Regions from separate parts of the Homo sapiens genome. Here regions 1, 2, 3, 4, 6 and 7 are each linked to region 5. Evidence: promoter capture Hi-C in 16 types of primary human blood cells and fetal thymus (Javierre and others, 2016). All regions are on one chromosome and are shown on one strand. Each heading gives the region's core, a stretch centred on a gene start or on the middle of the fragment in contact. The rest is flanking DNA. Distances are from core to core; before and after follow the strand shown.

Region 1 (3,681 bases), core at 305-2,804, 390 kb before region 5:
CATGAAATTCTACAATTTTAGGGCAGAAAAGGACCTTCAAGATCATCTGACCTAACTTCTCTCATTTAATTCCCTCATCTCTGCCTGATCACTGAGAAAGCTTGAGGACTTATCTTCTTATCTATACATTTCCATATGGAGACAGAAGCAACATTAATACAGCAGACTTTAGAATCATGTAGCCAATAATAGGCAACCAGAATGCTTTATTCCAACCAAAACATGAGTCAAAAAATGTTTAAAGCTATAGAAAAATAAAATACAGAACAACTTTGTCAACAGTTCAAATCACTGTAATACAAATATTTCAAATACAAATACCCTTTCCCTTTCCTCCTCTAGGGTTTGGGGAGCTTACTCACTTCATGAAATAATTTTGGAAAGCACCTTAAAGAGTTTATTCATTCACATGTTTATCCAATCAACACATTTTAATAAGATACATGATTAGGTTTTCCTCATAATGATTAAGATGATCATTAGAAGCACAGAATTCCCAAAGCTCTATCTCCATCCTTAACCAGCCTTTCTCCTTGCATTTTCATTTCCTTCTCCAGTTTTGCAGAGTTGGTCCAAACTTCACTCTTTTCATAGATATTCATGGGACATCTATTCAATGTCAACTCTTTGCACAGGGGATATAGCAGTAAAGCAGCTAAACATAGCCCTGGCTCTTATGGAGTTGATGTTCTGGTGAACTTTCAGTATTTAGGATTCCTTTGTACTTACACATGTTGAAAGTTACATTTATTTAGATTCCACTAACATTCGTCAAGTTCACTTGGGTTACCTGGCATTTTCACGTGCATTGTCTCTTTATTCCTTATGACAACCTTGCAAAGTAAGTATTGCTATCCTAATTCATCCAAGATCACACAGCTGTAGTTAAGTGATGGAGGCAGAATTAGAACGCAGGTTTTCTAATTCCAGGTCCCATGTTCTCTCTCTCTGTCTCTTGCCACAGTTGCACAATGAACTTTTCCAGGTACCACCCCCCTTCTCTTACGTGTGCATTTCCTGGCATCTTCAGCCTGGCTGGTCTTAATTCTCAATTGTTGTTTTCTCACCCCGCCCAACCTCTCTCACTCCTCTCTCACCTCCCTACCCCAAGCCCAAACGCTTCGGTGTCTTACAAATTTGTTTCTGTTCAGCATCTTTAGGTCTAGGCTATTTTATTTACTTAGCCCTTCTGCAGGACCAGGGAGGCCAAACAAATCGCTGGGACCTTGCGTCACTGGAATTCTTTGGGAGAATTCCTCCCTAGTGGAGGAGTCCAACATCAGTTGTTGCAAAGAATTTATTATATAATAATAATCATTTATGATATCTATCACATTAAAAATGCTTATATCCTGTGCTCATTGGTATTTGATAATAGATATGCATGCTCATATGTGCAAAATGACATTATTGGGCAAAGCTACTCATTAAAACACTGTTACGGCAAGAGGTTGGAAACAACCTAAATACAGCGCATGGCACATCCATAAACTGGAATACTATATGGAAAAGGGAGGAAGTTCTTTATATATGTGTATGGAAAGATCTTATAGAAGTTATTGTTAAGTTTAAAAAGAAGAGTTCTAGAGAATATTTATAGTTTAATATATTTGTATGGAAACTTGAAATATATACATGTTTATTTATATATACACAGAATACTTTGAGAAGATATAAAATAAATTGTTAACAGTGGTAGATTCCAGAGAAGAAAACTAGGTTTCTAGAAGTCAAGGGAGAAAGGGGACTTGCTTTTTTATTGGATGTTCTTTTATTTTGTTTGGATAGTATATGCATTGTATTATCTAATTATACAAAAAATTATTTAGAAAATTGAATGATAAGATGCTCTTAAGATATTTAGGCTGCTCAAGAACAAAGCCAATTTTAAGTGTTAGATGATTCCTTGAAATTTAAGTGTCGGGAACCTAAGAGTGCTACTTACAGTATTTTGTTTGCCCATACACCTAAGTAAAAAGCTAAAAGTTAAACAATATCAATGCATTAGCTACCAACAGATAGACTGAAGTTAAAAATAAATTGCATGTTATAGATGTGATATTGATTTGAATTTTTATAATCATCAAACCTAATTAGGTTTATAAACCCATTGCTCTATAACAATGTAAAAGGGAATACTTAGAACATCATTAGGAGCTCATTAAAATAGAACTATGGGAAAATGTTCTGTTAAATCAGGAAAAGAAAAGGAATGAAAAAGCAATTTCCCTCTAAACTTATAACAAGAGGCACATGCTCAGCCATTGCTAATCACACTCTCCTAACTCATTTAATTACCAAATGTCTTTTTAGTGTTAAAGTCAATTGTAAAAATAAATTTGCATGTTTTAGATGTCATGGCTTCTGCATTGAAAGAAACATTAATTTTAAATGGAAAACGCTAGAGTGCTCTTTAGTATGCTCTGGCAGAGCTGGTTAGCTGTCTTTTTATGCAACTGTGGTGTACATAGTCAGATACTACTGCATGCCAGTTTTATGAGCAATTAAAATCCTGTCCTTGAACCACACCAGCTCGATTGTGTGTCCCTTCTCAAGCTGAACTTTGATGCAGCTGTAAGAGTGCTTGATATAAGGCTGTTGGAGAATAAGTTGCTTTCATTCTGCTGAACCATAAAGGACTCATCACTGAGGACACAAAGGTGAAGGCCCAGCAGCCAAATGTGTGAAAGTTAGAGCTAGAAAACTGAGTTTCAAAATGCTCACATCAACATTCAGAATGTTAACTTCTTCCCTACTCCTCTTCCTCTAGGATTGTGTCAGTCATAGACTAACTGCTGGAATAAGCCGTTGCAAATGTCTGGTTATTTCTCACTCATGTCTGAGTTTAACGCAGATTGGTGGGAGAGTGGGAAAGGGAGGGAAAGGAGCCTGCTCTAAGCAGTCATTCAAGGATCCAGGATTCCTCTGTCTTGTGGCCCCACCATATCCAAGACACGGAGTCAAACTTTTTTGTACTATGGACCTATTTAACAGCCTGATGAAGCTTAAGGACCTCCCTCAGAATAGTATATTTAAATGTATAACATGAATTACTTGGCACTACAAAACCAATAATATTCAAATATTGTTATCTAAATATTTAAGAAATTGTGATATAGGTGCTTCCTTATTAGAATAAGATCCAGAGGCAAGTGTAAGTAATAACCACAGTGTCCCAGTAGTGATGATCACACAGCATATTGTGATCTTATCAATAACTGTAATATGATATGAAAGTACCTGTTATTTCTATTGGTGCCAAAGTCTATAGGTGACAGGTACTATTAATTTTTCTGTGGTTTGTTGCTTTCATTTGTAATAGAAAAAAATATACTAGATTTCAGTTTACCAGGGAAAGATGCATTTTTTTTTTTTTTTTTTTTTGAGACACAGTCTCACTCTTTTGCCCAGGCTGGAGTGCAGTGGCCCAATCTCGGCTCACTGTAAGCTCCGCCTCCCTGATTCAAGTGATTCTCCTGCCTCAACCTCCCCAGTAGCTGGGACTACAGGCGCCCGCCACCACGCCTGGCTAATTTTTTGTATTTTTAGTAGAGACGGGGTTTCACCGTGTTAGCCAAGATGGTCTCGATCTCCTGACCTCGTGATCTGCCTGCCTTGGCCTCCCAAAGTGCTGGGATTACAGGCGTGAGCCACTGTGCCCAGCCGAAAGATGCATTTTTT
Region 2 (4,267 bases), core at 971-3,470, 400 kb after region 5:
CTAAAAAATAACCAACAAGGTCCTTTCAACATCAAAAATTTTTTAAGTTCTCTATCTATTCTGGGGCATACCTTAAAGTGTTAAGTACTTAATTTCTAACAAACAACAAAACCTTCACAGGGTAACTATATACCTTTTAACCCTTCAAAGTTAAAAAGAAAATTGTTCAAAAATGGTAAAAATAAGAAACTCCAAATCATTCACTGATTCATTGGTTCAATAAGCATTTACTGAAGTGGGATTGTACCAGTTGTTAGGTGGCAGCAGACACGGTCTCTTCTCATCCCTCCCACACAAGAAGCATATGGTCTAACAGGGAGATATCAATGGCTCTACTTCAGTATAATGAATGCTATCATAGACAGGAGTATGGGCAGAACAACTGAGGGACAGTAAAGAGGAATGCATAAATCAGACATAAGAGGTTACAGTGATCATTTAAATCAGAGGTTTCATTGTTTATTCAAGTCTCATTACTCAAGAGCAGGCTAATCCTACTAATATTATATGTCTATTACAAATTCAAGAATCATCTCACAATCTACTTAATTAAACATGTGACCTAACAGCTTTTTCTATCTTCAATCTTTCCCCTGCTATGGCTCTTTCTCTTCAGCATATAAACAAAGTATTAATACTTACCATAGTAAAAAAACAAAAACTAAAAGACTACTGACTTCCCCTAAAATTTATTGCTCAATCGTTATCTTTTCTTCTGCAATCCCGCTTTTTCAAACTATGGCTTCCCTCAGTGTCCCCACTTTCTTTCACCCCCTACCTCAATTTTGGCATTTATCATTTTATTCCTAATTCTTAGCACAGTTCTTGGCACATAAGAGGCTCTCAGTAAATAGTTCTAAATGAACAAACAAGTCACTATAAATCCCTCTGCACACTTTACAGAACTTAATCTACATACACGAACTTTCAACAGCATGGTAACTATTTATCTCCTCCATCTTGAAACTGTCCTTTGCTGGGAGGAAATAGCCTACAGAAAAAGCCAGAAATGCTAGAGTTTTTTAAACTAGCAATGCCATTAATTAACCATGTGATGACTTCAGCAAAGTTATGACTCTCAGTTTCATTTGCAAACTATGAATAATAGCACCTGCCCCACAGGTTACAGTGAAGTAAGTGGTTTCAAACTCCTAACAGAGTTTGGCACATGGTAGAGCTCAATAAATGATAGCCACTATGTATTCCAAGGCTTACCTCCTATATTGGCCACATCATCTTAGAGTGTTTTTCCAGGCTTCTTTTCCTCTTTACCTGGCTAATTTTTATTCATCCCTCAAAACTCAATTCAGATGTGACCAGCTGCTCAAAGCACTTCTCAACATTTCAAACACTGGGTTAAATGACCCTCTTATGCATTTCTATGGCATTTCCTTATCTCAGTCACAGAACTTACGATAATACATTGTAATTTTTTACCTATCTCCCCCACCACCACCCCCTTATCAAACTGCAAAATATAAGCTTCTCAAAGACTATATCTATTTATCATCTCTGGATCCCCTATGCACCAAAAAGCTGGTATATGGCAGACATACATACACACACAGAGAGGTTTTAGAAATGAATAAATGGCCCACTGTCTACCTTGTTCATCACACTAGATTGTAATTTTTAATTAACTCTCAAATTTTAGAGTAATGATCATGTCCATAAAGAAAAGCAGGTGCTATCACATCAGGCCAGCCTGGTAAGTGAGAGGCAAGAGATAACTAAGATTTTCAAAAGCTGAAAACCTTTTAAGACCAAATTATTATATCCCAGACTAAAAGCAGATTGAAGATTGCAACAATACAGAAATAAAGGTAGTTTTGTTTTAGACTGTAAAGAAACAGTTGGGGAATTGCAGTTTTTTTCAAGACAAAGACATTACTGTTTTGTTTACTATACTGTGGAAAGTGCTGCACATACCTCTTTCAGAGATATCAATATTCAAACACAAATTCCAAAACAATTTAAAGGTCAAATTCTGGACTATTCCTACACTGAATAATCTGAGTCACTACTCTCTTTGCAGCTGACCACATTTGAACATAATGAAAACTCATTTGTAAGTGCTAAATATTCTTGCAAGAACCAAGATAATACTTGAAATGTTCTACTTACAGAAGAGTCTATCATAGTTTGTACCTCATTTCATAACTACTTTTTCATCACTCAGCAAATAGAAATACTGTCACCAAAAAGATAGGATGAAAATTATTTCATTTATTTCAATGCAGAATGTGCCTATATATAGACAATTTCTAACACTTAAAAAAATTTACAAGGACACACAACTTAGTATTTATATTAGGAGTGAATTAACCATTTAAATAAATGTTTACATTTAAAATCAAAGTTTTACTGGAAGTCATGCATGGCATAACTCATAAAAATCCCATATAATTGGCACAGCTAAATCATCTAAAATAGTAGCAATCCATCTTTTGGTAGCATATCACTTGATGGTGACTGTTCTTTTTCCAGAACTTTTACTAATGACTTTTTGAAATATAGCTTAGTGTGAAATTTGCTATAACAGTAAAATATTTTCAAGATTTTCCTGCCAAGGAACATCATAAACTATTTGACTTCGATGAAGTAATTTATTACCAGAATTCATAACAAGAGCTACAGTCCCAATGGAAGAGAGGAAAATATACCATTTTTTGTTTTGGCTTAATTTTGAAAACCAACCAAAGGATTATTTCCCAGGCTCTGTGGTCTACACCCAATAACAACAATGATGGTAAATATATCTAAAATAATATGAGCAATTCTATCTGATGAACATCCTTACAGAAATTTCAAATGACTTACAAATCAGAAACAACCCTTCTAGGCTAAGGTCACATACAACTATAAGCCATAATTAAACCTCTACCCAATAACAAAGATCTGCTACAAAGTTGCTGGGTGCTGGGGGAAGACAGTAAGGACTGCCAAAAAGAAGCTTGAAAATGAGCGCTATTTTCTCGCAGAAATCACTGAAGTACAGCTACCAGTGCAGGCAACCAGAATTAAAGTCTATTCTAGTGAAACTATGGAGATCTAATAACACTAACTTAACATTAATTCATTTCTTCATTGATATGGTTCGGCTGTGACCCCACCCAAAATCTCATCTTGAATTGTAATCCCCACATTCCCAGGACCAGGTGGAGGTAACTGGATCATGGGGGCAGTTTCCCCATGCTGTTCTCCTGAGAGTGAGTCTCAGAAGATCTGATGGTTTTTTATAAGCATTTGACATTTCCCCTGCTTGCATGTCGCACTCTGTCTTGCCACCCTATGAAGAAGGTGTTTCTCCTTTGCCTTCTGCCGTGATTGTAAGTGTCCTGAGGCCTCCCCAGAAGTGTGAAACTGTGAGTCAATTAAACCTCTTTCCTTTACAAATTATCCAGTCTTGTGTATTTCTTCATAGCAGTGTGAGAATGAACTAATACCTTCATTTACTCACTAAACATTCACTTAAGAAACATTTATTATTTAATTACATACCACACACTGGGTTAGATTAATGATAAAAGAACTATTAACAAAGACTCTGCTTACACAGAACTGTCAGTCCAGAAAAGCAAAATAAGACAGGTAAACAAATGGGCAAATGAAAATGTTTCAGTTGCTGTAACAGAAGTATACACAGGGTTCAGTGCTCAATTCCATTCTGCCTAAGAAAGTAGGTGGTTAGAAAAGAGATTTCTGGTATCTTTCAAAAAATAGAGGTTATCTAGATGAATATGATGAACATCCAGGAGAGAATAATATAAATCTTGACACTTTCTGAACTTCAAGTATTTTTCCCTTACTAGAGTTTGAATTGCTAGGCAGAAAATAGAGCAAGGGTGTATGTGTTATACATATACAGCACTATGCCATTTTTATATAAGGGACTTCAGCATCCTTGCATTTGGGGATCAGCAGGAGAGTCCTGGAGCCAATTCCTCTCAAAGGGCCAACTGTATACATAAAAGCCAGAGAGAGAGTTCCAAATCAGGCTGTATACAATTCCAAAAAACAGAAGTTTAAGCTCTGAGTCATAGAAAGTAATTTGATAAAGTCTGAGATTTTAGGCCAGGCACGGTGGCTCATGCCTGTAATCCCAGTACTTTGTAAGGCCAAGGTAGGCGGATCACTTGAGGCCAGGAGTTTGAGACCAGCCTGACCAACATGGTGAAACCCCATCTCTACTAAAAATACAAAAATTAGCCAGGCGTGGTAGCACACACCTGTAATTCTAACTACTTGGGAGGCTGAGGCACATGAA
Region 3 (3,808 bases), core at 831-3,330, 450 kb before region 5:
AAATGAAAAACATATGGAGTCAGAGTCTCAATGGCAGAAATAAAAGCTGCAACCTAAAAACAAACAAACAGAAAACAGGAAAAGACATTTCCAGTGAAGCTGCTTTTCACCAGGATAACTCTGTTTTATGTTCCATGGGGAAGAAAATAGACAGAGCAGGAAATTTTTTGTGATGATTAATGGTTCCCCATAGAAACTCTGACTTACCTCATCTAGTGTAATAATTATAGTTGTTCACATGGCTCTTTATGCTGTCTTTTCCTTCCAACATTGCCACAAAATTTAACTCCTCCAGAAAGTTCTCCTTGATTAATCACACATGCCACCCAACCCCCAGCCCTGATCAATCTTCTTACAGCTATTTATACAAAATTTTCATGATAGGAACACATACTTTTGCATAGTATACTTAAATTGCCTCTATGTGTACAGGTGGGTACTATCCCTTTAGTATACCTGGAATAGTTGTGCAATTTTGATACAGGAATAATATCAACTCAAGACCTGGGTGTTCAGTTAGCATTCAGCAGCGAACTGGGGAACACATGTGATTAACAAATGGGATGATTTCAAAACCTGGAAGATGAAAGCAAACTTTTAGGTTACCTGTACTTGCAAGAGACCGCCACTGGGCAGCCAACTTTTTCAATGTTTTCCTTTTAAACTTTTCATTTAAGCAGCAGTGACAAACACATGAAACACGACAAAGCCATTCCTCAAACAAACTCTTAGCCATGTAAGAACAAAGGAGTGGACAATGAAATCAGAAGGCAACTCATTTAACACAGATAAAAGAAAATGCTTTTTTTTGTCTACTGTATAATTAACTTATAAATTTGCTGTGCAGGAAATTATTGAAGCAAGTAATGTGATAAGACATTGTTAAGGATTTGATTAGGAATATTCTGTTTCTGCACATCTGGGGGGAAAATGAGAAAGGCCACTTATCTTTGGTTAGAGTGAATCACCATCTGTGGCCAGAAGTTTCTGTCTTGGGCTCAGCATTTCAAACTGAAGGTCAATATTAACAAGCAGGGGTTGGGGTTACCATGTTAGAAAACTTCACAGGTTGCAAAACCCAGAAAGTGACTCCATGGACGAGGCTGGGGCCATTGATTGTGCTGTTACTTCTTGACGCAGAGCTCTGCAGTGCAATAGAAATCTAAAAGCCATTCTTCAGAAACATGTAAGCGAGGAAGAGCCAGGTGGAATTTCCCTCTTCGGTCCATGCCATTTTTCTTAGACTATGAAAAGTGCAACTCTGAATACCAGGTGACAGCCCTGAAGAGTTGCTTCCTTTTTCTAGCCCTGAACCAAACAAAGCCAAAGGTTTTTGTCACCTCCTAATCATTAGCAATCCTTGGCATATGGCTGAGAGTGTCAGGTTTCTGGGCAATTTTCCTTAAGGTTAATTGCATTCTCTTTGTCATGTCATCAGAATTGAGCAAACCATTTTCATTCCACTTCTATTTCTAATGGGAATAATGACAGGTACACATTTCCAGATAAGACACGTGGAGACACGTGGAGAGGAACCTGCTGCAAATTGCTGGAAACCACCCTGCCCTCATGAGTCAGCTCCCTCTTCTGTTCCTACTCAGGAGTGGAAACTGCAAGTGGCCACACAGATGCCAGAGGTTGGGTGAGTAGAGAAGCTGGTAGTGGTGCAGGAAGCAGAGAAACAGAAAACCTTCTCCTCCCCAAATCCAGACTTCAGTGTGACCTTTGGGAAGGTCAGCCAACATGGGCCGAAAATGAAATGAATATGCATATGGATATTGTGTGCACATTTACAGTCATATTTACCTGCCTTATTCCACCAAATATTTGAAGCAACTTAATAAAATACAGTCCATGCCCCCAAGGAGTCTACAGTCTAATCCAGAAAAAGATCTCTAAGTGTATCCCTGCTATGCGAGACACCACAGAGTGAGTGTGGCAGGAGCATAACTGACCCCTGCAGGGTTTTGTTTTGTTTTTTTTGGAGACGGAGTCTCGCTCTGTCAGGCTGAAGTGCAGTGGCGCTATCTCGGCTCACTGCAAGCTCCGCCTCCCGGGTTCACGCCATTCTCCTGCCTCAGCCTCCCCGAGTAGCTGGGATTACAGGCGACTGCCGCCACCACGCCCGGCTAATTTTTTAAGTATTTTTAGTAGAGACGGGTTTCACCGCGTTAGCCAGCATGGTCTTGATCTCCTGACCTCGTGATCTGCCCTCCTCGGCCTCCCAAAGTGCTGGGATTACAGGCGTGAGCCACCGCGCCCGGCCGACCCCTGTAGGGTTTTAAAGGAGAGAGGCAGCATCCCAGAGGGCAAAAAGGGCTTCATTCATGGAGAAAGCAACTGAGCTGGGCAGAGCACAGACGGAATTTGAATTGGAGGCCAGAGGCAAAGGGAACTCCAAGTGGAAGAAGAAACGGCATGAAAAAAGGGATTGAGAAGGAAAAGGACAAGATGGTTTGGAGAGAGGTCAGTAATCCATTTTTTTTTTGGTTAGAGCACAGAGCTATCTCCAGTAGTAGCAAGTAGTAAGAGGTCAGGGTGAACAGATAGTGGGTTTTGGAACAAGACTGGGTTTAAATCTTGCTCACTGCACTGTTCTGTAACATGTGCTGTCAATGCTCATATCCTGTCGGGGTTATCGGCACAGTTCCAGAAAACTGAAGCTTCCTCGCCTCTGCTTATGGGTATATCCTGGCTGACAGCTTGTGCTTGGCTACTGTGGCAGGGCAGGTGGACTTGCTGGGGAGTTAACATCTCAAGAACAAGTCTCAACCAAGGAGGGATAGGAATCGGTGGAAAACTAGTCCAGCTCCTTAGCCCACAGTGCGGAGCGCTGTTCTACAGGCTCTCAGAGGGTCTGCAGCTGTGCTGAGCCCCAGCTGCTCACAGTGGTGACTCACTCATCACATTACTGACCCTCTACCCCGACCCTTCCTTGGGCTTCCTGGCACCCAAGTCTTCATCTCTGTGGTCTGATTTTGGAAAAATCCAAACTAAGACACTCTTTAATGCTCAGTTTGCTCATCTGTCAAATGTGGGTAATAATGTCCACCTGAATAACTGTTGTGAGCTAAGATAATGGGTATAAAGAACCTAGCAAAGTGCCTGACAGAGTAAGTGCTTCACAAATATTGGCTATTCATTAAATGTTAGAGATCCTTACATTCTGGGCTGTTTGATAGTGGGAACTGCCAAAAGACTTTAAGTAATGGAGTGCTTTGAGGAGACTACCGTGGCCTTCCTTAGAGGACCTTGGCCTTCTTTGGAGAAACTTAGTCTTGAATGCAGGACCCTGGCCTTCCTTGTATATCCCTAGTCTTCATTATAGAATTCTTGCCTTCAGTGTAGGATATCCGATATCCATTTCTCCATGCGTTCCAAGCCCATGAGAGGTTTACATGTTTCTGCCATGTGACTCGTTCTGGCCAATGGTTGTGAGTGGAAGTTAGTGTCATTTCTTGAACAGAACATTTGTCAGTGTGAGATCCTTCTGTCCACTTTCCTCCTCTATCAGAAACTGACAAAATTCTAAGTAGTGGAGCTTGGGTCACTCAGTAAAGATGCTTCAGAGATCAGTCTCTTATAATCTACCATGGCAGTGTAGCATGAACCACATTTGTTTCAAGCCATTGAGGTTTGTGGCTGCTTGTTGCTGCAGCATTATCTAGCTTACTCCGACTAATACAGATGGGTATGAATCAGAAACACTGAAAGTAAGCTAGTTAGGAGCCTATTACAGGTTTCAAGTAAAAAGAATCTGAAATAAGACCTGGAAACTGAAATGTGGGGGCGGGGAAAGAAAGAGTAA
Region 4 (4,044 bases), core at 1,183-3,682, 420 kb before region 5:
TGTCTATGTACCAATTTCTGTTGAGGAAACAAGGTACAAAGAAACTCCCATATGGATACTAGCAGGATTTGCTAGTGTCTGGGGAAGATTATAAATTAGCTAGTTGCTGCTCACATCAGAGCCAAGCAGGGCACATTCAGTTTTTTAATCTGGACCAATTTTCCGGATCAAAAACTAGTCTTTCCAAGGGATGTAAATGAGCCCAGGAGGGAAATTTCCCCTGAAGTTATGAAGTAGCTGTCATTTTAATCTGAGAAGCTTTCCAACCTGAAAGCTAGTGTCTGGATAAAATTATAAAGTAATAAAAATAAAACTCTTCTAGGTTGAACCTAGTCTAAACACTTCTATCTCAAATTTGATGTAATTAATATGCCAAAGTATTTAAGAGGTGGTGTTTCCACTATCAAAACCCTATCTATGCTTCAAATAAAACCAAAGAGGCCAGCATGGCATATTCCTGGCATGAATATCAGAATGAGACCCTGAATGAACCAGGTAGAAAATCTTTTTAGGAGAAGAACTCCAAAAAATAAGAAGGAAAATATGATGACCCACATGAGCAGTTTTATACAACAGGTTTTTATAAAATGCTTTTTAAAAATTCCCCTTAAATGGATTAAAATATATCCTTTAAAAAGCATTGCATACACTGTTCATGCTTTAAAACTATAGATATAACTATGCTTTGTTTAAAAATTGTGACAATTAATAGATGATTTCATGTGAATAAATCTGCAAAATGCAATTGATCGTGATGTGGTTATCTTAAGGAGGAAAGTTAGAAAGAAGCCCTTCACTGAAATCCTTGAAGGTATATGTATGTGTGCGTGCAGGAAGAGAAACAATTTAATGTGATATTACCTTGGACTGAAGCTATTATCTCCAAAATGAATTGAAGAGCTCATAAATGGAGTGGCTCATAATTTAAATATGGTGTAGATTATGATAATGACCTTAGATTTCAAGGCAGGTAACAAGTGCTGGTAATAAGAGACACAGTGCAAAGACTGAGGACGCTTCCAGAGCCGAAATGCAACAAGTCATATTTCCAGATAGAGAGTTTCAATGCGAAAATATTTAAGCATTCACATGGGATCCCGCTAAGACGATTTTCTCTGCCCTCTGATAAATTTTCCTAGCTTTGCCTCTTTCTTACAGAAACGTTTGTGAAGACAAACTGCACTTTCTGTGAGGTTTTGCAGACTGCATTCAAATAAAAGTAATATTGTTTTCCATTGTTCATAAGATATAATTAATCCCATAAGACAACCTCCCTTACAAAGTAAGTTAAGACAAAACAGATTTTTCAGAATTCTAAATATGGTCCCAGCAAAAAGTAATAAAAATCGTTATTTGGGAAACAATGTTTAGAACTTCATTGTTCAGAATGTTCTACTTTGAATAATCTCACAGCATAGGCCAAATCAAAGTAGACCAAAATAAACGAAGACTTTTTACCTATATGCAGCTAGAGGAAACACACGTTATTATGGTTTCAAGTTCTCCCCCAATTCCCAGTCCCTTATAACAGGTTACAACGTACATTTCTTTGTTTAAATGCCAAAGCAAAGACAGGAGTTCAAAACACGGTAAAATTAACCCACTGGGTGCTTCCTTCTGAACAAATGGCCCCAGAGTGGAAGAGGATGCTAAGAGCAGAGTCCACATCCCTGCACAACGCGTGGGCAGGACCCGAGATGGGCAGAGGGGGCTCCAGGCAACCCTTCAGACACTTAACAGGAAATGGCTGGGCTCTGGACAATATGAATTGAGTAAAATGTTTGGAGACGCAGGAGGGGCTGGTTTGACTCCTCTGCATGGTTGCCATCCTCTGTAATTGAGACAGCACGATCGCTGTCCCAACTGTCAGCTCTCTGCGGTCAAACACGGGGACCACCACCTCTATCTACTATGTCTGGAAAATTGATCATTCTTTTAATAAATAAATATCCCTAGCGCCGCCCGGGCTCGGGGGAGGGCGAGGTTTGCGTCTTTTCTCAGCTCCTGGCAGAGCTGAAGCGAGTTAAGCAGACGTTGGTCGGGGAGAGGGAGGCGGTGCGCTGCCCGCTCTGTGTCCTCGCCCCGGAGCCCAGCAGGGGCGCTCGGGGCGTGGTGGCTCTGGGCGGAGGAGCGCATTACCTGGTTTTCGGATGGCCGCTCGGAGCGACACCGCGCCGGGTCCGAGGCTGGAAGCCAGGAGCAGGAGCCGGAGCAAGACGCCTCGGATTAAATCCATTTCGCAGCCGGCGCCTGCAAAGTTTCACCAAGTCCCGGGCGCACACGGAAAGGGCGTCTCCGGGGGCGCGTGGGGGACGCGGCCCCAACGGATCCCCGGGCCGGGGCGAGGAGGTGGGGGGCTGCGAGGGCTGGGCCCGGAAACACGGGTAGTTCCAAGAGGTAGGACTGCAGCCGGGAGGTCGGCGTGCGCGAGTGAAGCCGGCTGCAAGCTGCAGGGCTTTTCGCGGGGGCGGGGGCGACGAAGGAGGCCGACTGGGAGGGAAGGGCTGGCCGCGGGAGGGAGGGAGGCTCGACCGGCCCGGGGATGAAATTACAATCGAGTGGAAGTGAGAGGGACAGGCCCTGAAACCTTCACTCCTCGCCCACCTCGGAAGCAGACAGCCCGCCCCTCACCCTCTCTAGCGACCCCCAGCGCAGCCCTTCCCCGCTGGTGACCTAGATTGGGGACCTGGGAGGGACCGACTTCAAGCACTGGAGACGCAGGGCAGGAGTTAGGCGACTGCGGGTCCAGGACCCTCCGCGGTCCTCACCCTGAAATCTTGGGGCGCCCCCCCTCCACCCCACCTGGGCCCTCCTCCTGCCGCGCCCCTCTAGGCGACTTTTTCTAACACCTCAAAGGTTGCTGTAGTTGGTCCAGCGCACTTGGGGGATGCGAGGGGTAGACGGGGGTCTGTGATTTGCAAGTGGGGTGGGGGTGAGAGGAAGAGAGGCGGGACCGTCCGGGTCTGAGGCGCTAAGAAGATAAATGGGATTTAAGGCTCGCAGATGGAGAGCTGAGGCCAGGCCGCTCAGACTGGGACGCCGGGTGGAGATTAGGGCCTGGAGCGGGGGAGTGGGGGCCCTTCCCGGCAGAGGAAGGCAACTTGAGACCCTCCTGGGGAGGAGATGAAACTCCAAGTTAAGCCTGGCGTCTTAGGGAGGGACGCGAGCTCGAGCCCCCAGGCGGACCGAGAAAAGCCCCTGGGCGGCGCCCAGCTGGGCCTGGGGCAGGGGGCCGGGGCGGGGTCCTGGCCTCTGATCCCGGGATCGGGCTTCCTGGGTTGTCTCCTGAATGGAGAAAGACTCTTTCTCCGCCGCTGAATTTGCTGCCCTAGGACTCAGTAAAATGTACCTTTTGCCAGATTTCGCGGTAGTGCCTGGAGAGGGGAGACCCTGCCTGGGACACAAGTCCCGTTGCATACTGGCGTTCTGACCTCCAAACCAGCGAGAAGAGAAAGCAGATACAATAAATAAACCAAGAGGGAATAAACTTAGAGGCAAACGCGGCCCTCGGCAGTTCCTGGGGAAAGATCAAAGGCCGTAGGAAGTGCCCCGCAGAGGAAATCTGCAGTCACTAGCGACAGGACCGCGCCCGCCCCCTCCCCACCTTGCAACGCTGCCAGGACTCGGTGGGCGTCCTGGCTCTTCACAGTTAGCCTATGTTTGGGAGCGCGGGAGGAAACAATGTTGACTGATATATTCTTCTCCCCTCCCCAGCCCCCCAAACACACACACACAGGATTTCTACTCCTCTTTTAAGAATGAAATATCCCCTGGCTGGAGAGTTTGTAATGAGCTCAATCTTGTTAGTTAGCAAAGCTGAGTGTGTTCCCTTATGTGTTGGCATTTTCAAGTGTGCAATTGTCTGTTCACAAATAAATTCAAAGTCCCCTCCAACTTGAGTATTTGGAAGTTTTAGCTGTGACACCAGAGCTTGTCCTCTTACATAGAACTGGAGCAAAGTTCAGACAGAACTATGCTCTTCACGTCCAAGGTGACCATAAAGCCGGCCACTAAGCTAAGCAAAGTGACTGCCCCCAAGGCTGC
Region 5 (3,901 bases), core at 54-2,553:
GGGTGTGTAAGGACTTGCCCTCCTCCTGTCCTCTACAAAAGAAGGCTCAGGCAGCTTCTGGTGGTGAACTAACCAACAAAAGGAATGCCCAGAAGGTCTCACCTCTCCCATCCACAGAGCTCTGGAATGGGGGCCGGGCCCCTGATCGCTGGAAACTCAGCATCCAAGTGGGCGCTTGCTGAAGTTTCCCATCTGCATTTTCGAAAATCTGGATAAAAGCAGGTTTAGCTCAACCTCCCCTAACCCGTTCCTGATAAAGTGATCTTACGCCTCTGGAATTGGGATTTTGAATGTATGTGCCTGCCCCATGTCTGGTATTAGATTACAACAGCATGAAAATGGAGCCTAGGACTGAGGAGCCGGCCAGCCTCAGAAGCCTTCTTCATTGCCTGCCATGTAATACATGATATGCAAAGCCTCTGACTTCAGCCAGCAGATATTTGGAGACCGTGTTGGCCTTAGCATGGGGACTAAACTAATGTGTGTTTAGGTCAGAAAGCGAATCAGAAAAGCCACTGGAGGGCACGTCACGGAGTGAGAGCCCTATAAATTCATCCCCACTCGCAGCGTCCCCTGGCAAATACTCGGCTTCCCTCACCCGGCCGCTCCGCACCTCTCCTTCTCGGTGCTAGAACTCCGGCCGGCAGCTCCTTTTCTCGCCACTGCCTCCTGCCCTGCGGAGAAGCGAGAGGGCGAGACACCCGAGCGGGAAGGCCGGCCTTCGACAGGCGCGAGGAAAGCCCGGCGCTGCCCTGCACCGGCAGAGCGCCACCCTCCCAGTGCGGCGCGCGGGGGCAAAGCCCGGCGCGGGCGCCGCGGTCAAGTTCGGATTGCCCCTTTCGGCTGGCCCGCGCAGAGCGCCGCACATTCCTCTCGATTTTTGATCCACCCGGAGAGGAGAAGGCGCTAGCCCCGCGGCGTCTCCGCGCTCTCAGCGCTCTCCCTGCAGCCCAGGGAGGGGCGCCTCGCGTCGCCCACTCGCACCCCGGCCCCCCGCCTCGGGAACTCCAGGGCCTCCTCGCTGCTCTCCTCTCCTCCCCCACCGCCAGGCCCAGCCGACGCCTCCCGACCCCTCCCTCCCGGGGCCCCGCGCCTCCCCTCCCCCACCCCGGACCCCGGACCCCCAGCCCGGGCTCTAGAAGACCAGCCTGCGCTCCTGGCGCCCTCATGTCTTCACGGGACTCCCCGCGCCGGTTGACGTGGTGTCTCGTTCGGATCTCCAGGCAAGACCTCAGCTCCGGCAGCAGCATCAGACAAACCAGTCTCGTGCTCCCAGGCAGTGCGCCCAGAGGAGGCGCAGAGCGCGGCAGCTGCCGCTGAGCCGCCCGCAGCGCCCCGGGCCCGCGCAGCCCCAGCCAAGAGCGCGACGCGCGCAGCCCTGTCAGCCCCCCACCCAAAGCAGCGGCGGCTGCTCGGACCTCGGCTTCTGGGGGTGCGGGGGCCCGGCGGGAGAGTTGCCGGCAGCCCTCGCCCTGTTGGCGGCGGCGGCGGCGGGAGTCTTGGCCGCCGCCTCCAGCGCGCCCTTGCTGCCCCGCGCGACCCCAGGATTGCGAACTCTTGCCCCTGACCTGTTGGGCGGGGCTCCGCGCTCCAGCCATCAGCCCGGATGGGTCTCCTGGCTGGGACTTGGGGCACCTGGAGTTAATGTCCAACCTAGGGTCTGCGGAGACCCGATCCGAGGTAAGTGAGGGAGCGGGCCGGGGAGCAGGGAGCGGGTGGTGCCTGCGTCGCGGGTGGGTGCGGCCGGCTGAAGGGCGCCCTAGTCAGAGGGGTGCGTCTGGACCCCAGAGCAAACGGTGAGAGTAGAAAGTGGAAAGACTAGAGGGAACCTAAGCTATGCGAGGAGAGAGAAAAGTAGAACCGGAGAGAGGCCGGCCTTTCGGAGGGGCATGTTGCCTTTTCCACGTGGGCAAAGATCTGTGGAGCCCCAGATGCGCCTGGACCCGGAATGCCCAAGAGGGGCAGTTTCCTTCCCCGACTCGGCCAGGTGCTCTTCCGTCAAGTCACAGAACGATTCAGGGCTTGGGTCATCTTCGAACCCACCGCCGTCGAAATGTGTCCTCTCTGGACGTGCAGAGATACTATCATTGCCAAGAGTGCAACTTACTATTGAGCTTGTTTTGATCTGTGCCAAGGAAAAGCGCAGGCCGGGGGAGGGGCTGCTGCAAAGGTGCTGAGAACCTAAAAATGGAGGGCTCACCTCCTCCGGGCGAGGTCTGGCAAAGCTACATTCCTCACCCGGTTGCCTGCACGTTCCTAACGCCCTCCACCCCAACTAACCATCCCCGTCGAGGTTAGGAGAGGGGCTTTCTTGCCAGTCCTGGATTCAAATCTCTGTCTCGAACGTATTCTTGAGACTCCACTAGGCCATTGAGGTTATTATTTTAATGACCCCTTTTTCTCCTGTACTCTGTGCCGCCTTCCAAAAACACCCCACCACCACTGCCACTACTTTACACCACCTCGAGGCTAATTCCGCACTGGTGGTTTGTTTCCTGCCCCAACGAAGAAAAACGAACCCTCTTCGGGCTGGAAACGGACTTTCGCGGGTTCCCGCCAGCTTCCTGGGGCCCAGCTAGTTTCGGCTTTGGTAGAATCCGCCGCCAGGACCCATGTGCGCGCCCCCGGGGGGCTTACCCATCCCAGAGCTCGCGACCCTTCTGCTCATAGGCGGGGACAAAGGCAACTCTTCCGGCCCCTGCTGCGGAGATGTTAGAACGCGCTCGACTCTTGCTCAGTGTTTGGAATATATGCTTAGGTATTTCAAGGAAGAGATGTTTCTTCCAACCTCATTCACGCACCCAGTCCCGCAAAGCCGTCAAAGCCGGCCTCGACCAAACTCGTACTGTTTCGCTGCGCCTTCGCTTTGTCAGGGAAGGTGGCGCCTTTTCAACAAGTAACAAGTGTCCGATCTCTGGGAAGTCCGCCGTGTCCCTAGCCCTTTCCCGCTAGCAATTCGGGTGCTCTCGGGCCTGGAACCTGGCCCTTTAAACAGACCGCTTTCCCAGTTTGCCTGCGAGAAGTGTCCCAAATTCTTTTTCCTTCCCTCATCTTGGGCCCCGCAGTTATGGGGGGTTGAGGGGAGAATAAGTCCTCTGTCAGTCAAGGACACGAAGCATAGTTAAGAAAAGCAATAGATCTTCCAGCAATTTCTGTCTCTACCTCCCCCCGCCAAAAAAAAAAAAAAAAAAACCGAGTTTATAGCAAACCCGTCTCCCCGCCCCACCGCCTCCTTTTTCTCTCTCTGAGACCTGGATCTTGAAGGCAAAGCCCAAACAAACCTCCCAGCCTGCCAGGCACAAGAAGGTGCGGGGGCACTGACGGCGGGAGCGCTGCCTCCTGCGAATCTGTCACGGTGACGCGTGGAAGGGGTGAGGGATGGTCTGAAAGCAGGTTGCCAAGAAACCCGCTCAGGTGAAGTGGGGAGAGGAAAACCAGCGAGAATGGAGGGGTGGGAGCCTGAAAAGCAGAGATGCCAGTAAGGACCTCCACAGGTTCCCGGGCTAATGGGATTTCGGGAGGCTCGTAGAGGGAGTGGTGGTTCTCCGGTTTTATAACTAAAATGATAACACAGCCTCCGGGCCGCGTGGGCGCGACACGGCTCAGACGGTTTCTGGTGCCCCCTGCTGCCGGGAACTCAGAAGTGCCTCGCGGCGAGCGGCTGCTTCTGCGAGCACTTCTGTGGCTTTCCTGGGCGTCCTTGCCTCCCCAGGCCTGGGGACCCACAGGTGCCGGCGCCCACGGCCTGCTGCTTTTGCCCTGCCGGGACGTGGTGGTCCCGGACCCAGAAGGGGACCAGCTTGCCAGGCACGAGAAATGGTGCGCGGTCACCTGGCAGAGCAGAGCCCCCGTCACTTGAGGAGCAGAGCTTGGTTCTCGCACGTGGCGGCGCGTAAAGCAG
Region 6 (4,279 bases), core at 400-2,899, 370 kb before region 5:
TCCTTATCCTATTCTAGCACCAGAGCCTTCTTTGGCTCCAATACACGACATGAGCTCAAAGCCATACTCCATCTCCTGTCACCCATTAGCTTCTTGGGAGTCCCCACATCCCCCGGCTTGACCTCAGACGATTTAGCTTTGGAAACTTGGCCCATGCCTTGTAAAACTTAGTCAATCTCCATGGCATCAGAGGTGACATGCTCACAAAAGTTTAGGGACCAAGAAGGCCACCACTTTTTACAACTCCCAGAAGCACATTCATGCTGTATTTATATGAGGAAAGCCCTCGCAGTCACAACAGGAGTGGATGGTACCTTAGGAGCTGGGCAACATGGCAGCCTGGTGGCCAGCATTCTCAGAGAAGGATTGCGTGGGCCTGGCAGAGTGCTCACTCAGGCTTGCTGTTGCTGTTGGTAGCAGGGGCCACACCTCACACAGTCACGTGCCACATTTCCTGCTCAGATGCAGACCCTCTTCCGTGGTGGCTGACACTCAGCTTTGTCTTTGCTGGTCATGCAAAAGGCCACTCATACCTTAGCTTGACCCACAGCTCATCTTAAAACAGACCCTAATTGCCCATTCTGGAACGATGTGAAATAATCTCCAACTTGCAAAATAATTCCAGCCAATGCCTACATGTAGTGAAAGTGTCAATCTGAGCCAGAGGACCATGTTACACATCAGATGTCCTGCACTTAAATTGAAGCATGCAGTCTGAAAGTATTCTGATGAAAAATGCAAAGGGATAAAAGTACATGGCTTATGTACTCCTCATGCTTATTATTAAAATAATTCCTATTGCCCCTTTATTTGTGCCAAGTTGATTTTTTTACTATTGACTGGACAAAAAATGATGATATGCCCAACCTCTTTCTTTTAGTTTTTTAAACTAAAAACTCACACCAATCCTAGGTATGACTGACATTTAAAGTTGTGTTAAAGTGATTAACATTTCTTTCTGCTCCCTCCTCATTCTCTTTTCTCTATCAGTCCTCCCTTGACCCTAGGCACCTTGTCTTTATTTTTTTTTAAACTTTTATTTCCGGTTCAGGGGTACATGTGCAGGATGTGTAGGTTTGTTACACAGGTAAACGTGTGTCACACAGGTTTGTTGTACCAATTATTTCATCACCTAGGTATTAAGCCTAGTATCCATTAGCTACTTTTCCTCATCCTCCTCCCCCTTCCCACCCTACACGCGCTGATAGGCCTCAGTGTGTGTTTTTCCCCTTTATGTATCCATGTATTCTCATTATTTAGCTCCCACTTATAAGACAGAACATGCAGTATCTGGTTTTCTGTTCTTGCATTAGTTTGCTAAGAATCATGGCCTTCAGCTAAATCCATGTCCCTGCAAAGGACATTATCTCATTCATTTTTATGGCTGCATAGTAGTCCATGGTATGTATGTACCATATTTTCTTTATCCAGTCTATCATTGATGGGCATTTGGGTTGATTCCGTGTATTTGTTTTTGTGAATAGTGCTGCAGTGAACATTTGTGTGCATGTGTCTTTATAACAGAATGATTTATATTACTTTGGGTATACACCCAGTAATGAGATTGCTGGGTTATTTTTTGACTTTTTAATAACAGCCATTCTGAAAACTGGTGTGAGATGGTATCTCATTGTGGTTTTGATTTCCATTTCTGTAATGATCAGTGACGTTGAACTTTTTTTCATATGCTTTTTGGCCACACGTATGTCTTCTTTTGAAAGGTATTTGCTCATGTCTTTAAATAACCCCTGGAACCTTGAACCCCAGCTGTTTTGGGTTCTTCACTTCCAGGAAATCTCGGTCTATGAGACTTTTCCTTTCCAAAATGTATCTTTCTTAGGCCCTATTCATTTACCTTCCAATAAATAATACCTGATGCATTGGTTTTTATTTATGATTACTAATAACTTAATGTACTACCCTTCCTAAAATCATACACCTGCATGCAAGTGCATTCATAGACATTTAAATAAGATCCATTAGAACCTTAACCCAAAGGAATCAGCAGGGATGAAATGTTAAAATAGCCACAAGTGCAGATATTTGGGAATAAGATTGCCTAAAACTATAACTGAAATAACAACAGGTTAAACTGGATTGTTACTGTCTTCACTCAAAAAAAGCCTTGTCCATCTCCTCACCTCTCCTCTGTATCCTAATTAAATATGCTAGATATGACTAACAGGGTCACCTATCACTTCTTCCTCTGCACATCATGGGGTAACATCTTCCCATGACAAAAACAAATAGGTTCCCACCTTTGAGGAAGAAGAGGTCTTTGTATTCTTAAAACTCTAGAATTTGAACAGTACCAGAATCTCAGTGGATATCTTATTAGTCAGGATAGGCTAGCTGGTGCTTCAGTAACAAATAGCCCCAAATCTTACTGGCTTTTTAAAAAAGGTATGTTTAATGTTTATGCACCATGAGGTTTCAATTGGGAGTTCTGCTCTGCATTGCTCATACTCTGAGACCCAGCTGACAGAGCTCCCACTTTCTGGAACATTTCTGGTTGCCATAGTGGAAGGAAAGATGAGTAAAGAGAATGGGGGATGTGTGCATCCTGGCCATTAAAGTTTGGTCAGAAGTTACATGTATCACTTCCTCTAAAACTTTATTCCCCAAAGCAAGCCCCATGGCCACATTTACCTACAAGTGGATTTGGACACAAAATTCAACCACATGCCTGTAAGAACAGAATCAGAATATTTATGAAAAGCCCAAGTAATTATAATTTAGAGTATCTAGAAGATAACCCAACATGAAAACAAAGCAAAACTCTTGTGGTCCTATAGTGAAGGTGGTGGTTTGACTATGTCTTTTCACAATCCAGCAGGTTTGTGAATTTAGAGTACCACACACTATTATTTCACAGTAAAATGCCAAGAGCAAAACCTGGCATTTAACAAGAGTCATTATTACTATTACTATTATAATTATTGCTATTACTACAGAATTATTATTGTGATAAGTGGGAAAAGACATCGAGGGGTATGAAATGATTACCTAAGAACACACAGCTAATTAGGAACACAGTGAAGATGAGAACACACATTTATTGAATCCAAGATGGGAGTATTTTTCTCTCAACTCATCCCAATGCATAGGAAAGACATAATCAAACCCATTGGATTGTGAAAAGACATAGTCAAACCACTGCCTTCAATATAGGGCCACAAACGTTTTGCTTTGTTTTCATGTTGGGTTATCTTCTAGAGCAGTGTTCAGCAAACTCTTTCTGTAAAGGATCAGACAGTAAATATTTTTGGCTTTGCAGACCATATGGTTTCTGTCACGACTAATCAACTATGCCGTTGCAGCACAAAAACAGCTACAGATAATATCTAAACAAATAGGCACAACTGTGTTCCACTACAACGTTCTTTACAAAAACACACAGCAGAATGGATTTGGCCAGCGAGCTGTTTGCCAGCCTCTGTTCTCGAGCATCCTCCAGTGGGGAAACACTACTTAAGGGAAAGTCTAAGAAGAAGGGAAACAAAGAAACCTTAGTGTGCCCCGGTTTCCTCTAGAGTCAAAAGCCCACCTTGTAGGGTGATGGTGAAGATTGAACAAGCTGATACATGCAATGCACTTAGAGGAGTGCCCGGCACCTGGTAAGCCCCCCAGTCACCTCCATGAATGGTGATTTCCCCTCACTGAGCGTCAGCCACTGTCCTAGGTGCTGGAGGTTCAATTGCAAACAGAACAAAGCTCCTGCTCTCCTGGAACTGATATACTGATCCAGCAAGTCAGACAAAGAAACAAATAGACATGTAAGCTATCAGGAGGTGATAAGGGCTGAAAAGGAAAATCATGCAGGGTTAAAGGTTGGCTAGGGGAGATGAGTTTAGGAAGTTTTATGTAGGGTGGGTCAGGGAAGAGATTTTGAGCTGAAGACTTCACGAAGGGAGGAAGACAGTTATGCAGGTGTGGGGAAGCATGTTGCAGCACACGTGCAAAGTCCCTGAGGCCAGAGCCTGCAGGCAGATCCTGGGGTGAGGCGGGTGTGGTCCCAGCAGCGCAGGGTGGAGGAAGTGATTCCTGAGGAAGATAAAGTGGAGAGTTGAAAAGAATCTGAAGAGGACAGGGATGTGCCTTGGCAGGGACTTTGGATCTAATTCTGCATGAGTTGAGAAACATTATTCGTATCATTTACTATAATAATAATTATTATTCTGTGCCATCAGTGCTCTTTTTTCTTTTGCTCACTGATTCTTCACTTTTCCACCTTCCTACTCCTTTCTCACTCCTCCCCCTTTCCTCCTCTCTTTCTACA
Region 7 (3,967 bases), core at 271-2,770, 440 kb after region 5:
TTTGGCTGGGCAGTGACTCAAGCCTGTAATCCCAGCACTTTGGGAGGCCAAGACAGGAGGATCACTTGAGCCCAGGAGTTTGAGACGAGCTGGGCAATGTAGTAAGACCTCATCTCTACTAAAAAAAAAAAAAAAAAAAAAAAAAATAGCTAGGTGTAGAGGCACATGCCTGTAATCCCAGCTACTCGGGAGGCTGAGGTGGGAGGATCACTTAAGCCCAGGAGGTCAAGGATGTAGTGAGCTTTGATTACACCACTGTACTCCAGCCTGGGTGACAGAGAGACCCCATCTCAAAAAAACACAAAAACTGTAATCCTCTACAAAGCTTACCAAATTACACATCCTCCAGAGAGTATTTATTCATACTTTCTGGATTTGATCTCATCCTCCTCATCTTTCTACTTTCTCCTAGTAAGAAAACTCAGCCATGCACTAATCAGGTACAATTTCATGACCATAGCTGTACTTATATACATTTGGGCCTTCGCTATAGCAATTTTTTTCTGGCTTGCAATATGCTTCTTTCTTCCCTTCTGTTTATCAGCCATTAGTCAGCCTTGCAAACCTGTATTAGCTCACACAACCATAAACAAAATACCACAGACTGGGTGACTTAAAACAATAGAGATGTATTTGCTGACAGGTCTGGAGGCTAGAGGTCCACAATCAAAATATGGACAAATGTGGTTTCTGGTGACACCTCTCTTCCTGGCTTGTAGACGACCACTTTCTGCTATGTCCTCAAAAAGCCATTCTTCCTTTCCCGTGGGAGAGGAGGAGTTAGTGCACGCTTTCTGGTGACTCTTTTTATAAAGACACTAATTCTATGAGATCAGTGGAAGTAATGTAGACAATAAGAGAGTACACTTTTCTGTAGAGAACTTAAAAACAATGATAAAATCAAGCAAAGATAAGCCTGCTTTTTATTATCACCTGGTGATGGCAATTATAAACAATGTTAGTTTAGACACTACTTAATGTTCTTTTTGCTATGGTTCCTATCGAGTTTTAATAACATATATGTGAACTTCAATTAACATATTTGTATTACTTATCTTTTAATAAACACTGTATTCTGGCCAGGTGCAGTGGCTCACACCTGTAATCCCAGCACTTTGGGAGGCCGAGGCAGGTGGATCACCTGAGGTTAGGAATGCAAGACCAGCTGGGGCAACATGGTGAAACCCCATCACTACTAAAAATACAAAAAATTAGCCAGGCGTGGTGGCAGATGCCTGTAATCCCAGCTACTCAGGAAGCTGAGGCAGGAGAATCACTTGAACCCGGGAGACGGAGGTTGCAGTGAGCTGAGATCATGCCACTGCACTCCAGCCTGGGCAACAGAGTGAGACTCCATCTCAAAAATAAATGAATAAATAAATAATAAAAATAAATAACCACTGTATTCTACACGAAGTTAATCTGGAGAACTCCCAGTTATCTGCACCACACACATGCACAAACACACTCACCTACTCGGGTCTCTACACACTGTTTTTCATGGTTCAGAATCATTCAAGCTCATTTCAAGGGTAATTTCCTATCTCCAATCCCTGTTGTACTACGTTTCTGCATTTAAATACTAGATTCAAAATAAACAAAGATTATAAAGACAAAGAAACAAAATGCTAAGCAAATCCAATTCTGTTTTCTATGGATGCCAAAAGAAAAAACAAAAGACATGGTTGGCAAAAGAATTTAAAACGGTAAATGTTTGAATACCTCAATTGTTTTCACCAAAAGCATTCTAAAGCAATGGATCATTTAATGGCAATGTTTGACATCATTTAGCCATTTTCTCTGATTTTTAGAGAAAAAAATTTAGAAGTTTTTACCAAATATAAAATGAATTTTCTGTAAAAACACTTTCATGAAAAAAAAATTTTTTTTTGAGACAGAGTCTTGCTCTGTTGCCAGGCTAGAGTGCAGTGGTGCAATCTTGACTCACTGCAGAGTCGGCCTTGCGGGTTCAAGCAATTCCCCTGCCTCAGCCTCCTGTCACCATGCCTGGCTAATTTTTTTTGTGTGTGTGTGAGACAGAGTCTCGCTCTGTCACCCAGACTGGAGTGCAGTGGCGCCATCTCGGCTCACTGCAAGCTCTGCCTCCCAGGTTCACGCCATTCTCCTGCCTCAGCCTCCCGAGTAGCTGGGACTACAGGCGCCCACCACCATGCCCGGCTAATTTTTTGTATTTTTAGTAGAGATGGGTTTTCACCGTGTTAGCCAGGATGGTCTCGACCTCCTGACCTCGTGATCCGCCCATCTCGGCCTCCCAAAGTGCTGGGATTACAGGCGTGAGCCACTACGCCCAGCCTATTTTTGTATTTTCTTAGTAGAGTCAAGGTTTCACCATGTTGGCCAGGCTAGTCTCAAACTCCTGACCTCAAGTGATCAGCACTCCTCAGCCTCCCAAAGTACTGGGATTACAGGCGTGCGCCACAGTGCCCAGTCAAAATATTTCAACCTACAGAGATATTTAAAAGCCACTAGAACTGATAAAAGAAAAAATATACAATCAACATTGCAATTTCTGGAACTTACTGTAAAACAAAAATTTTAATGAAACTGCCAAATTTATTCTTATTTTATTCTTGTTTGTTTTCTTAATTTTACATATGCACACACATGAATGCATGTGCATATGTGTGTATATATACTATAGATCTGTTATTTCATATGAAAGAAAAATGTACAAAATTGAAATTAGAAGCTTTATTTGATCAACTACAGACAGACGCAAATTGACAAATTTGCTGTACTATGTACTGAGAAGGAATACGCAAAGAATACCGATTTTGACAGTCATTGACAGATTTACAAAAGCTGTTGCTTTTCTGATTACTTTTCATTTCATTTCATAATTATTACTAAAAATAATTCATCACATAAAGAAGGGAGGTGTTAAAAAATTATCTACCCCAAGTGCGGCCGGGCGCAGTGGCTCACGCCTGTCCCAGCACTTTGGGAGGCCGAGGCGGGCAGATCACGAGGTCAGGAGATCGAGACCATCCTGGCTAACACGGTGAAACCTCATCTCTACTAAAAATACGAAAAATCAGCTGGGCGTGGTGGCGGGTGCCTGTAGTCTCAGCTACTCAGGAGGCTGAGGCAGGAGAATGGCATGAACCCGGGAGGCGAAGCTTGCAGTGAGCGGAGATGGCGCCACCACATTCCAGCCTCGGTGACAGAGTGAGACTCCCGTCTCAAAAAAAAAAAAAAAAAATTATCTACCCCAAGTGTCAAATACAAATGTAGACCATTTCCTTCAGCATTCTTTCCTTTCAGTATTTTGGAGATTATATCTTTTTTTTTTTTTTTTCTGAGACCGAATCTGTCACCCAGGCTGGAGAGCAGTGGTGCAATCTCGGCTCACTGCAACCTCTGTCTCCCGGGTTCAAGTGATTCTCCTGCTTCAGCCTCCCGAGTAGCTGCGACTACAGGCGTGCGCCACGATTACGCCTGGCTAATTTTTGTATTTTTAGTAGAGACGGGGTTTCACCATGTTGGCCAGGATGGTCTCAATCTCTTGACCTCGTGATCCGCCCACCTCAGCCTCCCAAAGTGCTGGGATTACAGATGTGAGCCACTATGCCCTGCCGGGCAATTACTCTTAAAATTGTAAACTTATATACTTGGCTTAAACTAATCTAAGGTTAACCGGTATCCCTGGCCTCCTCCCAAATAACATTTACAAAGCAATGAACTCTGATTTCACTCTCCCATCTTCTACTTCATTGTTGACAATAATTTTAGATCCAGTTTGCTCTTAAATCCTCCCAAATTTACCCATCATCATTATTATTTGCAGACAATGCATACATAGATTTTTTTTTTTTTTTTTGAAACAGAGTTTTGCTCTTATTGCCCAGGCTGGCGTGCAATGGCACAATCTCAGCTCACTGCAACCTCTGCCTCCCAGGTTCAAGCGATTCTCCTGCCTCGGCCTCTCAGAGTGCTGGGATTACAG

What was found. Contacts are between HindIII fragments. The CHiCAGO score rates a contact against its expected background, and 5 or more counts as called.
Region 1: a contact is called between a fragment that was not itself captured here and the fragment with the promoter of GDNF-AS1 in region 5, in 1 of 17 cell types (M0 macrophages). The highest score is 5.9, in M0 macrophages.
Region 2: a contact is called between a fragment that was not itself captured here and the fragment with the promoter of GDNF-AS1 in region 5, in 2 of 17 cell types (megakaryocytes and endothelial precursors). The highest score is 7.1, in megakaryocytes.
Region 3: the fragment with the promoter of EGFLAM-AS4 here is called in contact with the fragment with the promoter of GDNF-AS1 in region 5 in 2 of 17 cell types (M1 macrophages and M0 macrophages); the score reaches 6.0 in M1 macrophages.
Region 4: the fragment with the promoter of EGFLAM here is called in contact with the fragment with the promoter of GDNF-AS1 in region 5 in 3 of 17 cell types (M0 macrophages, M1 macrophages and M2 macrophages); the score reaches 6.5 in M0 macrophages.
Region 6: a contact is called between a fragment that was not itself captured here and the fragment with the promoter of GDNF-AS1 in region 5, in 6 of 17 cell types (M2 macrophages, M1 macrophages, M0 macrophages and 3 more). The highest score is 9.2, in M2 macrophages.
Region 7: a fragment that was not itself captured here is called in contact with the fragment with the promoter of GDNF-AS1 in region 5 in 1 of 17 cell types (endothelial precursors); the score reaches 5.2 in endothelial precursors.

Annotation. Positions count from the first base shown.
Region 1 is chr5:38,229,257-38,232,937 of GRCh38, reverse strand. No RefSeq gene overlaps it. Among named protein-coding and RNA genes, the nearest start is that of EGFLAM, 27 kb to the left of the region's middle. The HindIII fragment of the contact is 2,904 bases long and covers 103-3,006 here.
Region 2 is chr5:37,433,166-37,437,432 of GRCh38, reverse strand. The region is part of intron 5 of WDR70 (WD repeat domain 70); the gene reads right to left. Among named protein-coding and RNA genes, the nearest start is that of WDR70, 56 kb to the right of the region's middle. The HindIII fragment of the contact is 1,471 bases long and covers 1,485-2,955 here.
Region 3 is chr5:38,289,258-38,293,065 of GRCh38, reverse strand. EGFLAM-AS4 (EGFLAM antisense RNA 4) reads left to right here and starts at 2,080. Exons shown (of 4, transcript NR_046219.1): 1 at 2,080-2,466. All of the region lies in intron 1 of EGFLAM (EGF like, fibronectin type III and laminin G domains), which reads right to left. The HindIII fragment of the contact is 6,902 bases long and covers 1-2,665 here.
Region 4 is chr5:38,256,947-38,260,990 of GRCh38, reverse strand. It overlaps EGFLAM (EGF like, fibronectin type III and laminin G domains), which reads right to left and starts at 2,432. Exons shown (of 22, transcript NM_152403.4): 1 at 2,140-2,432. The coding sequence starts at 2,236. It overlaps LOC124900966 (a long non-coding RNA gene), which reads left to right and starts at 2,325. Exons shown (of 2, transcript XR_007058739.1): 1 at 2,325-2,397; 2 at 3,360-3,894. RefSeq lists an enhancer at 3,301-3,802. The HindIII fragment of the contact is 7,534 bases long and covers 261-4,044 here.
Region 5 is chr5:37,837,286-37,841,186 of GRCh38, reverse strand. GDNF-AS1 (GDNF antisense RNA 1) reads right to left here and starts at 1,303. Exons shown (of 4, transcript NR_145476.1): 1 at 1,149-1,303. GDNF (glial cell derived neurotrophic factor) reads left to right here and starts at 1,146. Exons shown (of 3, transcript NM_000514.4): 1 at 1,146-1,680. RefSeq lists enhancers at 1,285-2,222, 3,680-3,749. The HindIII fragment of the contact is 7,909 bases long and covers 1-3,901 here.
Region 6 is chr5:38,210,586-38,214,864 of GRCh38, reverse strand. No RefSeq gene overlaps it. Among named protein-coding and RNA genes, the nearest start is that of EGFLAM, 46 kb to the left of the region's middle. The HindIII fragment of the contact is 5,545 bases long and covers 1-4,279 here.
Region 7 is chr5:37,397,344-37,401,310 of GRCh38, reverse strand. All of the region lies in intron 5 of WDR70 (WD repeat domain 70), which reads right to left. Among named protein-coding and RNA genes, the nearest start is that of WDR70, 20 kb to the right of the region's middle. The HindIII fragment of the contact is 2,385 bases long and covers 328-2,712 here.